Linked DNA regions of Homo sapiens: regions 1, 2, 3, 4 and 6 are each linked to region 5. Evidence: promoter capture Hi-C in 16 types of primary human blood cells and fetal thymus (Javierre and others, 2016). All regions are on one chromosome and are shown on one strand. Each heading gives the region's core, a stretch centred on a gene start or on the middle of the fragment in contact. The rest is flanking DNA. Distances are from core to core; before and after follow the strand shown.

The links. The method cuts DNA at HindIII sites, captures the fragments that hold promoters and counts their contacts. A CHiCAGO score of 5 or more calls a contact.
Region 1: a contact is called between a fragment that was not itself captured here and the fragment with the promoter of SMPDL3A in region 5, in 2 of 17 cell types (M0 macrophages and monocytes). The highest score is 6.6, in M0 macrophages.
Region 2: a fragment that was not itself captured here is called in contact with the fragment with the promoter of SMPDL3A in region 5 in 1 of 17 cell types (monocytes); the score reaches 8.0 in monocytes.
Region 3: a fragment that was not itself captured here is called in contact with the fragment with the promoter of SMPDL3A in region 5 in 1 of 17 cell types (monocytes); the score reaches 5.8 in monocytes.
Region 4: a fragment that was not itself captured here is called in contact with the fragment with the promoter of SMPDL3A in region 5 in 2 of 17 cell types (monocytes and M2 macrophages); the score reaches 6.8 in monocytes.
Region 6: a contact is called between a fragment that was not itself captured here and the fragment with the promoter of SMPDL3A in region 5, in 1 of 17 cell types (monocytes). The highest score is 5.2, in monocytes.

What each region holds. Positions count from the first base shown.
Region 1 is chr6:122,449,575-122,453,587 of GRCh38, forward strand. SERINC1 (serine incorporator 1) reads right to left here. Exons shown (of 10, transcript NM_020755.4): 6 at 2,314-2,483; 7 at 2,090-2,180. Among named protein-coding and RNA genes, the nearest start is that of SERINC1, 20 kb to the right of the region's middle. The HindIII fragment of the contact is 968 bases long and covers 2,280-3,247 here.
Region 2 is chr6:122,392,276-122,395,987 of GRCh38, forward strand. No RefSeq gene overlaps it. Among named protein-coding and RNA genes, the nearest start is that of HSF2, 5.5 kb to the right of the region's middle. RefSeq lists an enhancer at 958-1,576. The HindIII fragment of the contact is 4,618 bases long and covers 1-3,712 here.
Region 3 is chr6:122,409,751-122,413,367 of GRCh38, forward strand. HSF2 (heat shock transcription factor 2) reads left to right here. Exons shown (of 13, transcript NM_004506.4): 2 at 2,623-2,731; 3 at 2,887-3,014. Among named protein-coding and RNA genes, the nearest start is that of HSF2, 12 kb to the left of the region's middle. The HindIII fragment of the contact is 2,345 bases long and covers 89-2,433 here.
Region 4 is chr6:122,488,795-122,492,446 of GRCh38, forward strand. It overlaps a transcript of PKIB not described here. Among named protein-coding and RNA genes, the nearest start is that of SERINC1, 19 kb to the left of the region's middle. The HindIII fragment of the contact is 581 bases long and covers 1,291-1,871 here.
Region 5 is chr6:122,787,864-122,791,331 of GRCh38, forward strand. It overlaps SMPDL3A (sphingomyelin phosphodiesterase acid like 3A), which reads left to right and starts at 1,395. Exons shown (of 8, transcript NM_006714.5): 1 at 1,395-1,595. The coding sequence starts at 1,484. RefSeq lists enhancers at 1,205-1,706, 1,707-2,206, 3,310-3,468, silencers at 1,421-1,715, 2,821-3,115 and a cis regulatory region at 3,395. The HindIII fragment of the contact is 3,428 bases long and covers 1-3,380 here.
Region 6 is chr6:122,432,452-122,436,190 of GRCh38, forward strand. HSF2 (heat shock transcription factor 2) reads left to right here. Exons shown (of 13, transcript NM_004506.4): 13 at 1-668. Among named protein-coding and RNA genes, the nearest start is that of HSF2, 35 kb to the left of the region's middle. The HindIII fragment of the contact is 3,628 bases long and covers 162-3,739 here.

The DNA of each region.
Region 1 (4,013 bases), core at 1,514-4,013, 340 kb before region 5:
AGAAAAGTTTGAAACTAGATGGGGTTGGTTGTTGAGGTTTAATGAAAGAAACTGTCTCCGTAACATAAAAGTATAAGGTGAACCAGTAAGTGCTGATGCAGAAGCTACAGCAAGTCATCCTAAAAATCTAGCCAACAAAATTAATGAAAGTAGCTACACTGGTCAGGCATGGTTGCTCACGCCTGTAAGTTCAGCACTTTGGGAGGCTGAGGCGGGTGGATCACCTGAGGTCAGGAGTTCGAGAACAGCCTGGCTAACATGGTGAAACCCAATCTCTACTAAAAATACAAAATTAGCTGGGTGTGGTGGCGCAGGCCTGTAATCCCAGCTATTCAGGAGGCTGAGGCAGGAGAATGGCTTACCAAGGAGACAGAAGTTGCAGTGAACGGGGATTGTGCCATTGCACTCCAGCCTGTGCAACAAGAGTGAAACTCCATCTCAAAAAAATAAAAATAAGAAAAAAGAAAGCAGCCAAACCAAACAACAGATTTTCAATAAAGACAACATAGACTTCTATTGTAAGAAGATATAATCTAGGACTTTCATAGCTATAGAGAAGTCAGTCAATGCCTGGCTTCAAAGCTTAAAAGGACAGGCTGATTCTCTTGTTAGGGACTAATGCAGACAATGATTTTAAGAGAAAGCCAATGTTCTTTACCATTCCAAAAATCCTAGGGCCCTTAAGAATTATATTAAGTCTATTCAGCCTCTCTATGAATAGAAAAAAGCCTAGATGACAGCACATCTGTTGAAAGTATGGGTTACGGAATATTTTAAGCCCATTGTTGGGACTTACTGCTAAAAGATCCTTTCAAAATATTACTACTCAATGACGATGCACCTGGGTCACCCAAAAGCTCTGATAGAGATGTACAGGGAGATTAATATTTTCATGTCTGCTAACACAGTATTTATTCTGCAGCCCATGGAAAAAGGAGTAATTTCAACGTTTAAATCTTATTATTTAAGAAATATATTTTGTAAGGCTATAGCTGCCATAGAGTAATTCCTCTGATAGATCTGGGTGGACAAAGTAAACTGAAAACCTTCTGGAAAAGATTCACCATTCTAGATGCTATTAAGAACATTCATGATTCATGGGAAAAAATGTCAAAATATCAACATTAACAGGAGTTTGAAAGAAGTTGATTCTAACCCTCATAGATGACTGAGGATTTCAAGACTTTAGTGGAGGAAGTAGCTACAGATACGGTGGAAAGAGCAAGAGAACTAAAAAGTGGAACCTGAAGATGTGACTGAATTGCTGCAATTTCATTATCAAGCCTGAATGATGAGGTGTTGCTTCTTATGGATGAACAAAGTAGTTTTTTGAGATGGAATTTACTCCTGATGAAGATGCTATGAATATTATTGAAATGACAGCAAAGGAGTTAGAATATTACATAAACTTACTTAATGAACCAGGAGCAGGTTTAAGAGGATTGACTCCAATTTGGAAGGAAATTCTACTCTGGGTCAAATGCTATCAAACAGCATCATATGCTACAGAGAAATATTTTGTGAAAGGAGGAGTCAATCAATGGGCAAACTTCATTGTGGTCTTAGTTTAAAGATACTAAAACAGCCATGCCAACCTGCAGCAACCAACACCCTGTTCGGTCAGCAGCCGTCAACATTGAGGCAAGACCTCCTACCAGCAAAAAGATTACAACTTGATGAAGGCTCAGATGACTGTTAGCATTTTTTGGAAATAAAGTACTTTCAAATTAAGGAATGTACATTGTTTTTCTAGACATAATGCTATGGCACACAACAGACTAGTGTAAGATAAACAAAAGTTTTATATGCACTGGGAAACCAAAAAATCATGCTTTACTGTGATGCTTGTTTCATTGTGGTGCTCTGAAACTGAACTCACAGTTTCTCTTAGGTATACATGTAACCTTCTTATAATTTTGTTAGTGATGGAAGAAACTAAGTGAAATAAATAATACATCAAAGATCAAAACTTTGTACTTTATTCCTCTAGAAGCCTAATTTTTAAGTAATTTAATCTCACAAAAAGACAATTTCTGGAAAAACAACAACTGCAGAACCTTTAGGAACATGTAATATAAATAAAACACACCTGGTTCATTGGTCATAGCTGACCATGTCAAATACATTGTGTAGACTGTAATTACTGAAGACTGTAACAAACCAGATCTTGGTTGTGATTCCTACAAAAAAAAAAAAAAAAAAATATATATATATATATATAGCAACACAGGTAAATAGTCTGACATCATTCTAGATTTTTGAAAACTTAAAAAGGTATAAGCTTCATAAAAACTAATGCTTTAAAGGGCATACTTGGATTTTTGGCAGTATAGACATTACAGAAGCACCAACGCAGAGGAGCATGTTGACACTGATGAACGCCTTGTTTTCTGAACAACTGGCTGGATGAGTGTAGTAGACAAAGAACAGGACGATAGCAACTAAAGACAGCAGATAATTCAGAGCTGTAGCTGATAACAAGGCTGTGAAAGAAATATAATTGGATAATTAGCTTTTTATCAGAAATTATTAGCAATTAGAAATGGGACCTGTTTTATAAACAATCTGTCATTTTGTCAAAAAATATATTTTAAGCAACTAACATTGTCAGCATTATAAAGGCTATAAAAGCAGGAAAGAAAATTAATTCTGACCTTTATTGCTGAAGAATTCTAGTTTTTACACATAGCTATTATGTATTTGCAAGGATGGCAAGTTAGTAAGAAACTAATAGGATTTAATACTAATATCTATATTAGAGTTTACAAACTATGTTTACATGTTAGCCATTATTTTCAAAATAAAGAAAAATAACTATAAGAGGAATATTACTTAAGGTTTTTAAAGAACCATTATCACTCAGTTGTAAACAAGGGCATTAAGAAAATTATTTTCATTATTAATGTTAAGCCCTCACAACAATGATGCTTTTCCTCATGAACTAAAATCTTAAAAGATACATATTATGCAAGGGTAAGTCATTATTTAATAAGTCAACCTATGCTTTTTCTATGTAAATTTCAACATACACAAGTTGTTTAGCCTTTATGCTAATATGTGCCTAATATACAAGTATTTATGTAGATTTGCCTCGCTGACAGGGGATCCATCCAACAAATATTTATTGAATGCCTGCATTCCAGGCCCTGGGGATACAGCAGGGAACAAAAGACACAGAAACCCTTGCATTAGACTTTGCATTTAGAGAACAAGGTATTCAATGTAAGTGAAATTTCCAAATGACTAAAGCTTATTTCTTTGAGCACCAAATTATTTTAACTTGAACCACTGAGATAAAACACCACAAATTAGTTGTGTGAGAGGAATATTAGGCCAGCAGACACACTGGATTTGGCTTGCACTCCAATTTAAAATTTTTTTAGCTGAAACTCAGTCATTTAGCATGAAAATCCAGATTTATGACTTCTTTTGAAAAACATTAGAAAAATCAAGCAATACTAAGTTCACATTCCCACAAGGCAACTAATAAATGGAGCTGAGCAGTAGTAATGCACTTTAGATGGGGCATTCATACTCTCCAATTCATTGTAGTCTATTTGCACAAAGCTTATGCACTTAAACTCTGTCCTCCTGTTCCCTCATTTTTGTTACCTGGTTTGGCCCTGTAAGCATTTGAATTGGGATATCTGTTTTCAAGTATAACCCCAAAGGACTCAACATCATCATTATAAATAATCATTAATTACATTACTATAGGAATTCCTTTAGTTGTTATTGATGCACATAAAAGCATCCTTTGCACTTGAATAAAACATCCGAGTTGCTTTTTATATTTTTTATTTGCTGCTGTTTATGAATTGTATCACTGTGTGTTTATCTATTCCTAGCAATCCTCTTCCCTTTAATATTTTGCTTTTAACCCATTGTAGGCTAGAAAATTAGGCTATAAAGTGCACATGCTTTCAGTAATATGCTTTGGAACATTTATTTTAGCTATTCAGGTTCTTTTGGATTCTTTCCTGGTTCTTGGGTTATGTTCCCAGTTAATCTGC
Region 2 (3,712 bases), core at 660-3,159, 400 kb before region 5:
AATTACATTTGATCTTCGTGGATCAAAGTTAATTTAAAAATATTTTGCCAACCTAGTGTCTTATGAAAACTATACATACATTGTTTGTTTGTTTGTTTTTTTGTTTTTTGAGACAGGGTCTCACTCTGTTACCCAGCCTGCAGTGCACTGGCGCAATCACAGCTCATTGCAGCCTTAAACTCCTGGGCTCAAGCAATCCTGCCTTAGCCTCCTGGGTAGCTGGAACTACAGGCATGCACCACCATGCCCAGCTGAAAACTATGATTTGACACATATCTTTTAATTTTATTATTATGAAGATATATTTTTCAAGCTAGGAGACTAGAACATATTTTATTTAAGTTTGTTAGCTTGATTTGCAATCTTTAAAACTTCTGAAATATGGCATGTAAGCCTCTATTTTTACTCTTGCTTCAGGCCACCTAAATCCCCTGAACACTGGGTCTATGAGGATCCTAAGGTTAGGGCACCTAGAGAATAGGCTACCAGTTCAAGATAACACCATTCTCAGGTTAGTCAAAAATGGGGAAAGACAATACACTATTTTTAGTCAATACACATATCCTGAACTTCATTAATTTTACCAAGAAAGAAATCATTTCCACATCCATTGCCCTAGTTAACAAAACTTTGGTATTAATTAAAAAAATAAACATTAAGATTAAATCTTCATAGGAAAAGCATTAGATTAGTCTTTCATATGCTAACTAACCACCCCTGGAGAATGCCTTCCTAATTCGGGTTTTTCAACTGTTAACTTGACTGCCCCTAGGGTGCAGATTACAATTAACTACCACACTATATACTCCTCTTTAAATTGTAGTATTTTAAAGTAAATTATAGCAAATATAACAATTACCATATATAAGGGCTTTATAAATCAAGAGTTCTGCCATTAAGTAGCAAATTTTTTTTTTTTTTTGAGTCAGAGTCTTGCTTTGTCATCCAGGCTGGAGTGCAGTGGCGCAGTCTCAGCTCACTGCAAACTCCGCCTCCTGGGTTCAAGCAATTCTCCTGCCTCAGCCTCCGGAGTAGCTGAGAGCACAGGCGTGTCCCACACGCCTGGCTAATTTTTTGTATTTTTAGTAGAGATAAGGTTTCACCGTGTTAGCCAGGACGGTCTTGATCCTGTCCTTGTGATCCGCCCGCCTTGGCCTCCCCAAAGTGTTAGGATTACAGGCATGAGCCACTGCGCCCAACCGCAAATCTTTAAGAGGTCCTAGCAACTACTTGATTCAGACAATGGCAGACTTTTCTCCGAAAGATCAGAATTCATTCAGTTCTATCCTAGGATGCCTTCTCAGAAAGCAGCAGGTTGAGCCTTTGTTTCATCTCTACTGTACTGCACCACGCTGTGAGCACAGAATAGAAAAGTCATCTCTCTTTATGGCTGGTAAGTGGATGCTGCTCATAGTAGATGACTAAACTCTAAAGAGGTTAGAAATGTCCCAGTGGTTACCAGCTCTTCACAGACACCTCTCAGATCATGACACACAGCTGTGACAGTGACTGCCTCCTCACTGAACCCAATTTCTCCAGTTTAGTATTCAAAGCATGAGTGTATTTCTGTATCCAATTCCTATAATTCAGCTCATTTCATCTTTGAGGACCTCAAAGGTCTTAGTTATCAAATGATTTGAATAAAATGATGACTTAAACCACATTTTCCGAAAGATAAACTCCTAACACATTCCATCTATCTTGGACACCACCTCCTCTTGGAACAAGACAAGTCCCAGTGAAGTAGAAACTTAAACCCTAACATGGTTTTGTTCTAGTAGAAATAATGGAAGGCTTATATTGCAGGCCATTTCTCTATTCCACTCCATTTTTCTAATGTTTCCAGTCCTTGACGGTTTTTAGCCTTGAATTTTCTTTCTTATCAACATCTCTCTGTGTGTGTCTGAGCCTTCACGGGGACCTTGAGTTGCAGGGGTACATCAATTCCTTCTATTTATCAGCTAGCTGTTGGAGTGCCTGTGAAAGAGAGCCTCCGCACTGCTTCCAGAAAGGCCAAAGCTGCATTAGAGTTTCCAGATCCCGTATCTACATTGTCGCTATACAATATTTTGCTTTGCTTAAAGAGCCTCTGCTTCCTGTCCAACATAAATAACTGGAAGAGGCTGAGTTAGGGTGATCAAACAATCTGGTTTGCCTGGGGCTGAGGGATTTCCTGGGACATAGGACTTTCAGTATTAAAACTGGAAATGTATTGTGCTAACCTGAACTAGTTTGTCACCCTAGTTGGATGACTGATTGGATTCTAGCAAATCTGGCATAGATTGGAGTTTTAATGTAGAGCAGTTCCAGCCCGAGTCTGGTACAAGCAGTACTAACACATTTCCCATGTAAAAAGCTCCTCTGGCTAGTGTCTTTTGCACCCAGGTTGTAGCCTTAGAAGAAGAAAACTTCTTGAAAAATTTTAAAAATTAACTTTCACAGTCTTCTAGCTCTTCACTTACTCAAAAGCCTATTCAAGAGTCCTTAAGCATTTTGCCACTGTCATTTGTTTTGAAGATATAAGTGACCTCAAACCTGGGCCTCTATAGCATTCTGTTAACATCTGGCATTTCCAGGATTCTAATATTTGTTCAGTTACTAACAGCTCCTCATTCGCATGCTTCTCAGTTGAGCTATCCTTAAGCTCTTCTCTTCATTTTCTTCTCTTGTAAACAAAAAGGTTTCTACTGACTGAGAATAAATTGTAAGGGGTTTCCTTATTATTAGGTAGAGCACATTTTATCCAAAGGATTTCAAAAGCTAAAATTATTAATTCAACAAATATTTATTGAGCAGTTCCTACGTTATTATTAGCACTGTGTTGAGTGCTCAGGATACAAGAGTGAACAATGCAAGCACAATCTGCTAGTCTAGTAAGGGTTGTTGAGAAGTAAATGAGCAGCAATAGTGTGGTAAAAACTATGAAGGTCAAGTTCCAGAGCTATAGGAGCACATGGGAGGAACAACTAACCCAGATTTGGGGGTCATGCAAGAATAAACAGATGATTAGCACTTACCTGTTCATGTATTCATTTATTAATTCAACAAATATTTATTGATATTTTAACATATATCATGCATTGTGAATGTCATTGTAAATAAGTGAATGTACATATGACATAGTATTTATGTTGAAGCAGTTTCATAGTCTAGAATGAAAAATACATGTAAATAAATAATTATAATATGATGTAGTAAGTGCTATAATAAATGTTACCAAGGAAGATTTCACAAAAGAACTTATGTTTGTACGGGATTGTACTTGACCTGGAAGGTTGAAGAAGAATTTAGGGGAAAATGGTGAAGAAGGGCTCTGCAGGCAGAGACAACAGCCTATGGAAATACATAGAGGTATAAAAGAATATGACCAGTAAGGTAACTACAAGCAATTAGGTGTGGCTAAGGGAAAGGCGTTGTAAACAATGGTAGACAATAACTGAAATGGTAGGCGGCATCAGATCAGAGAAGGCCTTTTATGCCCCTTAAGGGGTTTGAATTTATTCTGGAAATTATGGGAAGTCACTGAATAGTTTTAAGTCAGGAAGTGACCTTTTCAGATTTGTGTTTTAGAAAGAGATCCATAAAGATTGTGAAAGTGGACTGGAGGAAGAGACAATTTCTTTGATCTTCAAAACCACCCTGTGAAGTGAGCATAGCAGATATTTTTCACTCACATCTTATATATAAGGAACGAGGACTAGAAAATGTTAGG
Region 3 (3,617 bases), core at 11-2,510, 380 kb before region 5:
AGAGATAGAGTAGGAAGCTAGCAGTCTCCATGGATAAATTTATATTTTATCTATATGTCTTCTGGGTTTATTATGTCATGTCTCCAAAAGCTTGCTTGTAAAGAGTAAGATGACATCGAGCTCTTATTTTTCTTCCCAAATGGAAAATTTCTTAATCCTTTTCTTTCCTGATTATCCCCCCATTTGAATGCCATCTTGACTTACTACCTGGTAAATTCTCAGATAGATTTGCTGGTTCATCTGTCCTCTCTAGTCAGTCCATTCATCTATGTAATCACTTCTTCTTTTGTACTAAATTGTTAACACTATAATTTTATAATCTGTATTGGGTAGGGTTAAAATACTCCTCCCCATTGTTCTCAATATTTTCTTTCCTGTTGTTATGTAATTATTTTTACAAATGAACTTATGTACCTAACATTTGGTTATGATAGCATCAATTCATCTTTACTCCACAAATCATTTTTTTAATTAAGACAGAATTTAATGTATTGGTTAATTTAGAGAGAATTGACACCTTTACAATACTGCATTTGTCTTCCTTTTGTATTTCTATAGTTTTAATATTTTTAAAGTTCCTGTATATTTTTAAATTTTATTTTTAGATACTTAACATTTTTCTATTATTATTGGGATATTTTATTCCATTTTAGTTTCTAATTTTTTTAATTGTGGTAAAATATACATAACATAAAATTAACCATTTTAAGTGCATTAAGTTAGATTCACATTGTTAGGCAACCATTACCACCATCCATCTCCAGAACAATTTTTATCTTTCCACACTGAAACTTTATACCCATTTCACAATAACTTCTAACTCCTTCCTCCCCGCAGCCCCTGACAACCACCATTCTACTTTTTGTCTCTGAAATTGGCTATTATGGAAACTTCATATAAGGGGAATTGTACAGTATTTGTTCTTTTGTGACTGGCTTATTTCACAGCATAATGTTTTCAAAGTTCTTTTCATGTTGTAGCTTGTGAGAATTTCCTTTTTTAGGTGAAATAATATTTCATTGCATGTATATACCATACTTTATCCATATATATTTCACCATGTGTTGGTGGATACTGAAGTTACTTCTACCTTTTGCCTGTTGTGAAAAATGCTACTGTGAACATGGGGTACAAATATCTGTTCAAGTCGTTGCTTTTATGGTTTTTTTTGTTTTGTTTTTTTGTTGTTGTTTTTGGGTTTTTTTTTTTTTTTTGAGTATATACCTAGGAATGGAATTGCTGGATTATATGTTCTTTGTTTAATTTTTAAAGGAACTATCATAGTGTTTTCCACAGCAACCACACTATTTTAACATTCCCACCAATAATGCACCAATATTCCAATTTCTCCACTTCCTTGTGAACACTTGTTTTATGCGTTTTTGATAATAGCCATTCTAATGGGTGTGCAGTGGTATATTGTTTTAGTTTTGATTTTCATTTCCCTAATGATTTGTGTTACTGACCATCTTTTTATTTGCTTATTGGAAGTTTGTATATCTTCTTTGAAGAAATATCTACTCACATCCTTGCTCGTTTTTTATCGGGTTGTTTGGGTTTTTTTTGTCTTTTGTTCTTTTTGAATTTTAAGAGTTATGTCTATGTTCTGGATATTAACTCCTGAGGTATATGATTTGCACTTTCTTCTTTCCATTCTGAGGGTTGCCTTTTCAGTCTGTTGGTAGTCTTTAGATTTGATGTAGTTCCATTTGTCTATTTTTGCTTTTGTTGCCTGTACTTTTAGTGTTACATTTAATAAATCATTGCCAAGTCTAATGTCATGCTCTACTATTGTTAAAAGTTTCTTTAGCTCTTGTGTTTAGGTCTTTGATTGATTTGAAGTTAGTTTTTATATATGTTATCAGATAAGGGTCTAACTTCATTTTTTTGTATGTAGATATCCAGTTTTCCCAGCACCATTTGTTGAAAAGACTGTCCTTTTTTTATTGAATGGTCTTGACACTGTTGTCAAAAATCCTTTGGCAGGGTTTATTTCTGGGCTGTCTATTTTATTTCATTGATCTATATGTTTGTCAGTATGCCAGTACCATGCTACTTTGATTACTTTATTTTTGTAGTGTTTCCAGGTGTTTGTTTTTTGTAGAGAAAAACACTAGTGACTTTTAATATTAATTTAGTAACCACGTATCTTACTGAATTCTTAAAGGGTTTTTAAATTGATTTTACAAAGATACAATTATGTCTACTATGTCTACTGCAAATAATTATAAAATGGTACTTCCTCTCAAAATCTTTTTTTTTTATTTTGGTCTTAATTGCACTAGTTTTAAAACAATGTTAATTATGCTGTCTACATAATTGTATTTCATTTTCTCATTGCTGGTTTAATGGAAGTTCTAATATTTCACCATAGAGTGTGATGTGGCATTTGGTTTGAGATATGTTCCTAAACTTTTGAGGTTGACATCAAAAAGCTTAGTTGCAATTTGTTGCTTAATTGCAATTTTGTTTCTTGTTCCTGTTGTCAAGAATAGAATGTTGGTCTGAAGACATCAAGGAGGGACTGGACTACTCAAGACAGTTGTGGGATGTATAAATATATCACCATGTGTCATAGGAACTTAACTAATTTACTTTTTCTTTTTTTTTTTCCCCTTGCAGAATGGCCAAAGTTTTCTGGTCTTGGATGAGCAACGATTTGCAAAAGAAATTCTTCCCAAATATTTCAAGCACAATAATATGGCAAGCTTTGTGAGGCAACTGAATATGTGTGAGTATGGACAGCAGTTTATTGGAGTACCATTATCAGCTACTGATGAAGCCATTTTTTTTCCCATTAGGGTGGTAAAGGAAAATTATTCCATACAAGCACCACCAAATTTTGACTTGTTTATTTTAGTCATTTGAATTTTGAATATTTTTCAGATGGTTTCCGTAAAGTAGTACATATCGACTCTGGAATTGTAAAGCAAGAAAGAGATGGTCCTGTAGAATTTCAGCATCCTTACTTCAAACAAGGACAGGATGACTTGTTGGAGAACATTAAAAGGAAGGTGAGCTATTGTGAACGTGAGCTAATTAGGGTATTGACCTGGAGTGTGCTTGGCCAAGATTTTTATTTCAGCTGTTGAAAGTACAGAAATGCACAACTGTTCCTTGTTGGGATGAATTAGGATAATAAAGTTTTACTTGTTTCCCTGTATTTTTTTCCTAAGTTAGCTTAAAAAAAAAAAAAAGTTTAAGTTCCTGCTAGAATATGAGCTCCCTGGAAGACTTTTTCTATAGTTTGTAATTGTACATCCAGTACCTACAATAAGTCTCTTCTAATAATATAAATATGCCCACATAGTAGGCATTCAGAAATACATTCAGTAATATATTTTTTAATGCATAATATCTTTTGGTAAAATAAGATATTTTACTAAATCTGTAAAAGGGGTGGACCATGAAAGAAAATGGCCTAGCATGAACCTTTTACTGCATAAATTTAATTAAATGTGGAATGTGGTAATAAAGAGGCTTGGGGGAAATTGCAAGGAGCTTGGCATAAGGGGAGAATAAAAGACTCTAAGATATTCCTGCTTGCGGAAACTTTTTAACATTAAAAAAAAATTTTTTTTAAGTAGATTATTCCTTGCGTTCTCTCCCATTGAGCT
Region 4 (3,652 bases), core at 331-2,830, 300 kb before region 5:
CAGAGGTAGAAAATGTCTGTCACTCACATACACAAACATTTGTATCTACTTCTGTATCTATCTGTCTATCTCTGTCTATCTAAGAAATTGTGTGTTCCCAGTGATAATTCCAATTGAAACATAATACCACAGGGATCATTCTGGCCATTGGCTTTTCATATTTGTAACTCATTTATCCAATAGTGAGAAACTTGGTTCTCATTATTCTCAATTTATTCACTTATTTGCTTTTTCCTCCTGTATATAATCAAACTCCTGACCCAGAAAGTTGCCTTCTAGGCCCTGCCCACCTCAATAGCCCCAATAGTTTCCTTGGTCCTAAAGTTTCTACTTGTGTTAGCTGCCTCAAAGGACAGGAAGTAAAAAGAATTAATAGATTTTTTTAAAGAAGGGGGAAAAATAAGAGACTTTTAAAAATAGTATTTCATTTATTATTATTATTATTATTATTATTGTTATTATTATTATTTTTGAGAAAAGTCTTGCTTTGTTGCCCAGGCTGGAGTGCAGTGGTACAGTCTCAGCTCACTTCAACCTCTGCCTCCCAGGTTCAATTTATTCTCCTGCCTCAGCCTCCTGAGTAGCTGGGATTACAGGCACCTGCCACCACACCCAGCTAATTTTTGTATTTTTAATAGAAATGGGGTTTTGCCATGCTGGCAAGGCTGGTCTTGAACTCCTCACCTCAAGTGATTCAGCTGCCTCAGCCTCCCAAAGTGCTGTGATTACAGGCATGAGCCTGGCCAAAACAGTAATTTAAAAATGGATTCTCTCCTTTTAAAATACTACTTATCATTGAATGAGTTAGGCTTTCCTGGACTGGCCATTTGTAAGAGGTTTCTTTTGGGATATGAAGGAAAGATAAAGTTTCTGGCTAAGTAATTTTCATAGAGCAAAAGCTTTCTCCTTTCCTGTTACAGAGTCATGTTACTTCTTATAAATATGATTTTTCTGTATAATTCTTTTTATAGCCCCAGGCCTTCTTAAGAAGAAAGACATGACAACTCAATCCATTCAGTCTTTGTACTAACGGTCACAAAAAAGGAATATTACTTTTTGGCTTCACAGTATACCCACACTTTCAGGAAGTATATTTTGCAAGTGCTTTTTGAGATCTATTTTTCAGTGGATCCCTGCTCTTGAGATTTATCACCAGGGATTCTTGTTTTCACTGCCCTTTCTGTGTATACAAAAAAATGTCATGTGCTTTTGATAGTGTTTGATATAAAATGGAGTCTGGGAGTTAAATATGCATCCAAGTTCTTCAAAAATAGTTTGCAAACTTATGAAAGCTTCTTCTTGTAGCTTTTGAATAATTTCCAAGAAAAAGGGAAAATGCTGATTTATAGAGTCATTCAAATTGTGTCTAAGTCCTCCAAAAATGTTTTTCAAACTTATAAAAGCATCTTCTTGTAGCTTTTGAATAATTTCCAGGAGAAAGAAAAGGTGCTGCTTTATATAGTTATGTTTGTAGTTGTCACATGTTGGCTTCTTCAGGAAGGAGGCTCTGAGATGAAGTTTAGCGTGAGGATGTTTATTAAAGTGTGCCCTTACCAAAGAGATCAATACAACTGGCAGGGAGGGAAAGAAAACAGTAGTAGTATTATGGTTTGGATGTTTACCTCTTCCAAATCTTATGTTGAAATATGATTCCAAATGTTGGAGGTGGGGACTGGCGGGAGGTGATTGGATCATGGAGAAAGGTCCCTCATGAGTGGTTTAGCACCATCCTCTCGGTGATGAGTGAGTTTCCTTTCAGTTCACACAGAGATCTGGTTGTTTTGAATCTGGGACCTCTCCCTTCTCTCTTTCTTGCTCTCATTCTCATCATGTGGCATATTGGCTACCCTTTGTCTTCCACCATGAGTGTAAGCTTCCTGAGTGCCTCAGCAGAAGATGACAGCACTATGTTTCGTGTACAGCCTGCAGAACCATAAGCCAATTCAACCTCTTTTATTTATAAATTCCTCAGTCTCAGCTATTTCTTTATAGCTAGCAAAAATTGCCTAATACAAGTAGGCAGAGGAAGAAGTTGTGCTGTGATACAGCCCAGCTTTAGCCTCAGCTGAATCCATAGGGAAGCTCTAGAACTAGAATGACCCTTTAGAGTTGCCTGAATGGGGCTAAGATCACCCATCAGTGATTATGTTAGTGGCAGTGAATCTATACTGGTCTCCAGCAACCTCAGTTCCTGCCTCCTCAGAAGAAAAAATTTGAGGGGCATAAAGGAGAAGAAGAGACTGAGACAAGTTTTAGAGCAGGAGTGAAAGTTTATTAAAAAGCTTTACAGCGGGAAGAAAAGTACACTAGGAAGAGGCCCAAGCAGGCCACTTGAAGGACAAGTGTGGGGTTTGACCTTTTGACTTGGGGTTTTATATCTTGACATACTTCCATGGTCTTGCATCCCTTATCTCTTTATTCTGCACTTGGAGCTGCCTGTTCTCATGCACAGTGTGTTACTGGAGTTATACGCATGCTCACTTGAGGCATTCTTCTCTTTACCAGTGGAATGCTTCTGGAAGGTCATATACCAGTTAAACTCCACCATTTTGCCTCTTAATGTGCATGCTTGAGCTCACTCACCCAATTCCTGAGATCTTTTTGGGAATCATCTATTATTATTTTAGAGAGGCAGTGTGACAACTGCCTGACCATCACCTGATGGTCACCTGACATTCCTGTTGGAGTTGGGGGAGCCCTCTCCTCCCCCGCTCATGCCTGGCTAGCTACCTACTGTAAAAATTAGTCATTAACGTAGGCCTCTAGAAGGGACGTGTGGCCTTGGGCAAACCAAGTCTTCCTGAAGAAGTGAACAGCTGAAAGATGTCTGCAGATAGCACTCCTCACTACTGGTGCAACAAGTCATTTCTTGAAAATAGGTTGTGGAAGCACATTTCAGTGTCCTGGTGCATAGCCTTTGAATACACACTCCTCTGAGTTATAGTTTTGATCTGATTTCATAGCCATTTATGACTCAAAAATATCAAGAATCACTGCATTATTGGGAACATTCATTATTTCTGTACCTTGTTTTTATCTAGAAAACTAAGGTTAATCTAGAAAGATTTGAGCTGAATTTCTAAAGCTACTCGGTAAAAATAAATATGTTGTTTTTACAGTCAGCAAATTTTCTTTAGTTATATGTTAGAATTATGAGTACTGAAAGCCCTTTGTAATTCCACTACATTACTAAAAGCTAAGACTCACCAACTGTGGATTAGTTACGCAGATATTTCAAAAACACTTGGAGGTTTTATTCAGAGGCTTAAGCCACACATCTCAGCGCTTGAGAGGGTAGCCTAGAACCAAGAGGGGGCAGCAGAGGGCCACCAGAACAGTGAGGGAGAGGTATGAGAACATGTCAGTTGAAAGGATACTGATTTTAGAGAGAGAAATACATTTATGTATTCATGCTAAACACAGAAGGAGGAGTTATGGCTTAAGAAAAATTGATTGTAAGCATATTGAGAGAATCTCTGGTTGTTCGTGGGTAGTGTTCATGGGACAAAAACTGAGCAGAGGAAAAGCAAGTAGAATTCAGGTTATAGGGAAGTCATGAGCTTCTTAGGGAACGTGTGCCTTTTAGATCTACGACCTATGGTTACTTCGGGCTCTTTATCACTGATAACATTAAGCACTCAGGGAACAATAT
Region 5 (3,468 bases), core at 145-2,644:
GTTAGTAATTATGGAAAGCATTTTCTTCTGCAAAGGAATTCCACGCCCTATAAATTTAAATTATTAGCTTGTCATCTCCAAGAGATCAGCATCCTCATAAACGGTGAGAGAAGGAACACAGAATACAGGATCCAGCACAGTTTCGGGATTCTGGCTTCTTTGCCAGACTTATCTTTGCTTACTTCTTTGTATAGACTTACTTCTTTGCCAGACTTATCTTTGCTTACTTCTTTGTATAGACTTACTTCTTTGCCAGAAGTATATTCAAAAAAGTTCCGTGGAAGCATCAAATCAACCACCTCTACTTATGATTTCCATGCATCTCTGGAATGCATAAAGCATGATTTCAGAACATGTTCTAATTCTAAGACCCTTCTCTTCCCGGCAGTTTAAAAAAAACAAAAAACAAAACGTCGTATCTTTGAGCATTGGTTTTCAAACATCACAATCACTTTAACATGACCTGAAATGCTTGTGAAAACACAAACTGCTGGGCTCCAGCAGGTTTCTGACTCAACAGGTCTAGGGTGGTGCCTGGGAATTTGCATTTCTAACTAGAGTTCCCAGGTGGTGCTAATGTTCCCAGTTCAGAGACTTCAATTCGAGATCCACTGCAGTATCCATAACTTTTGCTGATTTCCTTCAAATCATGATACTTCAGGGCTCTCTGCATCACCTCTACTGAGGAGCCCTACCCATTAAAGCTGGGGTAGGTTGGCCCAAGAATGGAACCGGGATCGTTGAGATTTCAGCACCCCAGCATTTTTTAGTGACTGAAATAATGAAAATTCTGATCAGGCTCCTGCTTGCTTGCACATTTTAACCACTCGCTTTTTGCCCAATATTCTCCTTGTTTCCACAATATAATTATAAACTGCTGAGGTACTGCTTCCTCGTCAAGAACAAAGAGGTTAACTTCAGGGTCACAAAAATGTTTGCAGAAGGGATGAATACCTCCAAGGGCTTTGCAACCAGCTGCGGATGCCTGGACGTCTAATTGCTCAAAGGTGTTATCTGAGACTGAAGAAACAGACTTTTCCCCTGGATTCTTTGAAAATCCCCCTCTCTTATTCTCTAGCAGAATAAAAACTCCCTGCTTTTTCCTTTTTACACACGGATTTGAGAGATCTTGTTCTCCCTCCTTCTGGCTTTTACTAAATTGAATGTCTTTCTCTATCCCCAAGCACCAGTATGTCAGTGTTTGACATCAACTGCACCACTGATACACGAGTCGGAATTTGAGCTTCTACAAGTACATTCCTTCCTAGGCCAAACACTGACGCTAAGAAATACGAGAACAGATCATCGCTAAACAGCAGCTGAAGGTCAGGCGAACTGACTCGCTGCGGAATCTGCCTTTGCACGTGATCAGTCGGACGTCTACACCCGCAGCCGTCTTCTGTCTCCGCCTCACCCTCAGGCCTGACGGTCCGAGTGGAGCTGCGGGACAGCCCGAACCTCCAGGTCAGCCCCGCGGCCCTCCATGGCGCTGGTGCGCGCACTCGTCTGCTGCCTGCTGACTGCCTGGCACTGCCGCTCCGGCCTCGGGCTGCCCGTGGCGCCCGCAGGCGGCAGGAATCCTCCTCCGGCGATAGGTGAGTTGTCCGCGACCCTTCTCTTCCCAGCCGGCAAAGAGCGCGGAGCGGCGGCGCCTGCGCACAGCAGGAGAAAGTGCGTGGGGGCAGCTGCCCCCGGCAGAGGCTCGGGCTAGCGGGGCCCCTGACGCGTCCGGCGTTGACCACGGCTGGTGGGCGCGGGGAGGGCGACCAAGGGACTACAGCGTTAGGGCGTCCAGCCGGGAGGCCGGGGCTGGGCGGGGGAAATGCCCTCGCCGGTGGGGGCGCTCCAAGGGCGCGTCGGCCGGATTTCGCCAGCCTGGCTTTTGTTTACATCCTGCATCTCAGTTGTTTTGTTCCTTGGGGAAGGAAGGAAAAGCTGCGGGACTCAAGGGAAGAGGAAGCTGGGAGTCCGATGTCCAGCACAGCAAGAGGCCCCTAATCGGTCCTGAATGGAGGGGGACTGCAGTTTCCCCACCAGCTCAGGGAAGTAAATTTCAGCGTGACTCACACTATCTTCTGTCTTGCTCGACCGAGATCAGTGGCTTTTTCTGCCACTCACCCAGCCAGAGCGCGAAAGCACCCTCGGGTAGACTCACCCCTTAGTCTACCGTGGAACTCACGGGGACTTCATTTCACCTGGATGTCCACTAGGTTTCCTGCGGGCGGGACCCATTTTATTCACTCCCAGCACTTAACACAGTGCCCGTTACAGTAGTGATTCTCTTAAGTGTGCCCTGGACCGGTGGCAGCAGCCGCCGCACTTAAAATTGTTAGCATTGCAAATTTCCAGCCCATCCCAGACCTACTGAATCTGAAACGCCGGCGTTGGGCTTCCACAGTATGCTGTTTAACCCACCCTCCGCATGATTCCTTTCGGCTAAGTTTGAGACTCACTGGTCCAGAATAGATACATTTTGGTGGGAGATTGTACAATGCCATCCGAGCCTCCAGTTCCAAAAATCAAGGTGCCCTCACCTCCTCAACTCCCTTTAAAAATAATTGCACTGTTAAGAGGAAAAACAAAATTAGAGAAGTGGGGTTCTGTTTTCTTTTAGGGGAGAGTTGTCCCTGAGACTCGGTAGCAGCACCTAGTGCTGAAACCTCTTTCGCTCCCTCTGTGCTTTCTCAGGACTTGGGAGCGCTCTAGGGCAAATATCTTCTCTTTGAAGGCCAAGTCCTCACGACTCAGCTGTCAGGTCTGAAGCAAAAACTGTAAATCTGGTTTCCGAACTGTGGCAAATGTCAGTCATTACAAGAAATTTCCCCAAAATGTTTATGTATACTGGTTTCTGCTTTTATTACGGCTTAGCTTGTGTTCCTTTAATTATGTGACCGGTTAGGGTTTTGAAATAAAATGTCTCACGTTGCTTGAGGCCACACAATGGCAAATTCACCTGTGTTTTAAAGAGGCCTGAATGAGCGCTTTCTGGGGACTCTGTGAGTCTTCACACCTCCTGTTTGGGAAACTGCAAGGTTGAATCCCCTCCTACTAAAGGGGAAGGAAGAGGGGTTACTGGAGTTCAGTGGTCTGAAGTGTTACTGGAGTCACTGGAGTTCGAAAGTCTGAAGTGTTACTGGAGTTCAAAGGTCTGAAGTGTTCACTCAGCAGTTTCACAATTCTCCTTGTTTGTAATATTTTGCGTATTTTCCACTTGATGTGACAACTCTCCTGCCTCCTCTCAGCCCCACATGCTTGGACTTCCTTTCAGCATCCACCCTGCCTGGCTACTGCTTTCTTGTTTTGTGTTTTTGCGTTTAAATTCCCAGTCTTAGTTTTCTGCCCTGTCAAGTCCTGGTGGTCGGACGACAGAAGTTCTAGGAAGCTTCACCTGTGTGTTTTTGGCTACAGTTCTTTAGATTGAGTAGGCTGGGACTGGCTTGTGTATTGGTACTGTTAAAGCAAACTAAA
Region 6 (3,739 bases), core at 726-3,225, 350 kb before region 5:
GTTGGATTCAAATGGCCATTTTTCTCCAATTTTGGTAAATTGGATATCTTTTTTTTACAAATACGACCATTAACCTCAGTTAAATTTTTGTTTGTTTTCCTGTTTGATGCTGTCTATTTGCATTGAGTGTAAGTCATTTGAACTAATGGTATAACTCCTAAAGCTTTCTCTGCTCCAGTTATTTTTATTAAATATTTTTCACTTGGCTTATTTTTAAAACTGGGAACATAAAGTGCCTGTATCTTGTAAAACTTCATTTGTTTCTTTTGGTTCAGAGAAGTTCATTTATGTTCAAAGACGTTTATTCATGTTCAACAGGAAAGACAAAGTGTACGTGAATGCTCGCTGTCTGATAGGGTTCCAGCTCCATATATATAGAAAGATCGGGGGTGGGATGGGATGGAGTGAGCCCCATCCAGTTAGTTGGACTAGTTTTAAATAAAGGTTTTCCGGTTTGTGTTTTTTTGAACCATACTGTTTAGTAAAATAAATACAATGAATGTTGAGTACTAGTGTCTGTTATGTGTCTTCTTTAGAGGTGACACTCACATGAAACAATTTTTTCTTCTCATAGGAAGCAGTAGCTTTAAACTGTCTGTGGTTCATTATTCTCAATATGAATCATACCAAGATATTTGTGCCTCATCTCGAAAATATATTGTATATTGCAACAAGGGAGAAATATAATCTCTAAATTTAATGTATTTTAAAGTTCTTTGTTTAAAAATTATACTGGGTTGCTTTCTATGTTTCTAATAAAAAAGTGAGAGAATTATGCCTCTCATTGTCCCAAATAGTGTAAGAATATTATCACTGGATGTCTGGAGAGAAGATAAGAGAAATAGTCAAATCACCTCTTTCCTTTGAAACAGTTGCCCAAGAGAATTATGGAGACTTAATGCAAGGCCAGGGCACTTTATCATGTGAAGAATTTCACCTTTGGGCAAAGGGCTGAAAGCAGTACAATTAATATTGTATAGGGCTATTTAATGAGTTTCAAGGCAGGTTTTCCTATTGGCCATATTCTGTCAGTGTCTTAGAATTTCTTTTATTATGATGTAAAGATTCAAAGTAAGGGCTAGCACAGAAGAATAGGAAAATTCCCTTAGGAGAGTTTTAGTTAGATCCTAAAATACTTGGCTCTGATGGTGGGATCTTGGTGAATTAATTCAAGACCCTACAACAGTGCTCTGCGTGAGCTGAAGAGGTTATGTTTCTAAGGGTGATAAGAGTTTAGAAACTGAGAGGAGAAAACCTTAAAAGACTTTTCTTCATTCCTTTCTCATTGTGAAATACAGTCAAGTTTCTTCTTCTTGGGGGCATTTTGGAACTCTAGAAGCACTTAAAAAATAATTTTGAAAAACTTGATTATGACCCTGGTACTTTTAAAGTTGACATTTAAGATTTTTCATCTTAAGTTTAAATAGTTGGAAGGAATTTAGGATATAGTTAATATTGCTGTTTTAAAACATAATTGTTATATGTTTCTTTAACATTTACCTAAAGGAATTTGAATGCCATAGTGATTTGATCTCTATCATCCACTCTACTTCCTCCAAACAATTTTTTTTTTGAGACAGACTTTCACTCTGTCGCCCAGGGTAGAGAGCAGTGGCGTGATCTCGGCTCACTGCAACCTCCGCCTCCCAGATTCAAGCGATTCTCTTGCCTCAGCCTCTTGAGTAGCTGGGACTACAGTCATGTGCCAACACACCTGGCTAATTTTTTATTTTTAGTAGAGATGGGGTTTCACCATGTTGGCCAGGCCGGTCTTGAACTCCTGACCTCAGGTGATCTGCCTGCCTCGGCCTCCCAAAGTGCCGGGATTACACGCATGAGCCACCGTGCCCGGCTTCCTCCAAAGAATTTTATCCTGCTTTTTTATGTTTGAAAGTTAGACAATGATGATCTTTCGTGACACCTCTTTACATCTAAATTTGAGATTGTTTCCCATAACTGTAAGATTCTAGGCATTAAAAAACTTTCCCTCCAATTTTATACTGTATAACTACACAGTGGATTAAAACCATATAAATATATATGGTAGAGACTTAACTGATTGCCAGACCGTTTCCTTTTCCTATCATGTGGCTAGATTATTTCCACCACTGCAGATGGGGTAGCCATGTAACTGAGTTTTAATCAGTAAAACAGGAGAAGTGATGTGTAGCACTTCCAGTTCTGGTGGTGTAACTTCCCCCATGCATTCCTCCCATGCCATTTACCCCTCCACTGGCTTGATGCAGAGTTGTATGTAGCTTTCAAATATACAATCAAGAAGGAAAAAAATGGCTTCTTGAATTACTGCTTAGAGGAAGGCCACCTATCAGTCCTGGATAACCATTTTACACTTCAGGTGAGGGGAAACAAACCTTTTTTCTACCTGAGTTTTTGGGGGTTGATCTGTTATAGCTTGTAATGTTTACTACAATTAGAGTCTAATTTTGATGATCTGTTAAACAAAAAGTTTTACCAAAAATATATCTTATAGTGGAATAAACAGCTCTTCCTGAGTTTTCATAATAAAAGTTAGTACCAATTTTATTCCTATTTTTGTTTTCACTGATGTTAAAATCCTGAGAATCTTTGTTTATAGTACAAAATGACAAGTAGATGAAAAAGCAGTTTTGTATAGTACTGTTAATTTTTTAATACCTTTAGAATTATGTACCAGAATTCTATCAATTGATGACTCAGTTGGATCATCTTTCAATTTTGTTGAAAGCAAAATATTAGAAACCAGCTAAATCACAAAAAAAAGTTTTTTTTAACTCAGTGTCATCTCTTTCTCACCAATATTTTTAAATGTCCCTTTACCAATTGTCTGGAGATTTTTTTCCAAAGTGCATTGGTAAGATTCAGAATGGATAAGAGATATATCTTTGTTTTGTCAAGTATGAAAAGAATAATTTTTGTTCTGTTTTGTTTGAGATAGAGTTTTGCTCTGTTGCCCAGACAGGGATTACAATGGCGCAATCTCAGCTCACTGCAACTTCTGCCTCCCGGGTTCAAGCGATTCTCCTGCCTCAGCCTCTGGAGTAGCTGGGATTACATGCGTGCACCACTACGCCTGGCTAATTTTTTGTATTTTTAGTAGAGACGGGGTTTCACCATGTTGGCCAGGCTGGTCTCAAACTCCTGACCTCAGGTGATCTGCCCTCCTCGGCCTCCCAAAGTGCGGGGATTACAAGCATGAGCCACCGCACCTGGCCAGAATAATTGTTAAAAAGGATGATGCCGGCCGGGTGCAGTGGCTGACGCCTGTAATCCCAGCACTTTGGGAGACCGAGGTGGGTGGATCACGAGGTCAGGAGATCAAGACCATCCTGGCTAACACGGTGAAACCCCGTCTCTACTAAAAAATACAAAAAATAGCCGGGCATGGTGGCGAGCGCCTGTAGTCCCAGCTACTCCAGAGGCTGAGGCAGGAGAATGGCGTGAACCCGGGAGACGGAGCTTGCTTGCAGTGAGCTGAGATCGCGCCACTGCACTCCAGCCTGGGTGACAGAGCCAGACTCTGTCTCAAAAAAAAAAAAAAAAAAGGATGCCTTGTCCTGAGGCCTGAGGCACCGTTTCAGCCAGATCAGTTTTAGGAAAGAACACACATAGGAATGAAAGATGTGGTTTCTTTAAAAAACAATCTAGCTTGTGTGTACCAGAGGAAGTCTGCCTGTACTATCTGGGAAACTAGTACCACAGTGTGAAGACAGTGTAGGGGGTACCCCTCATTATCCCACTT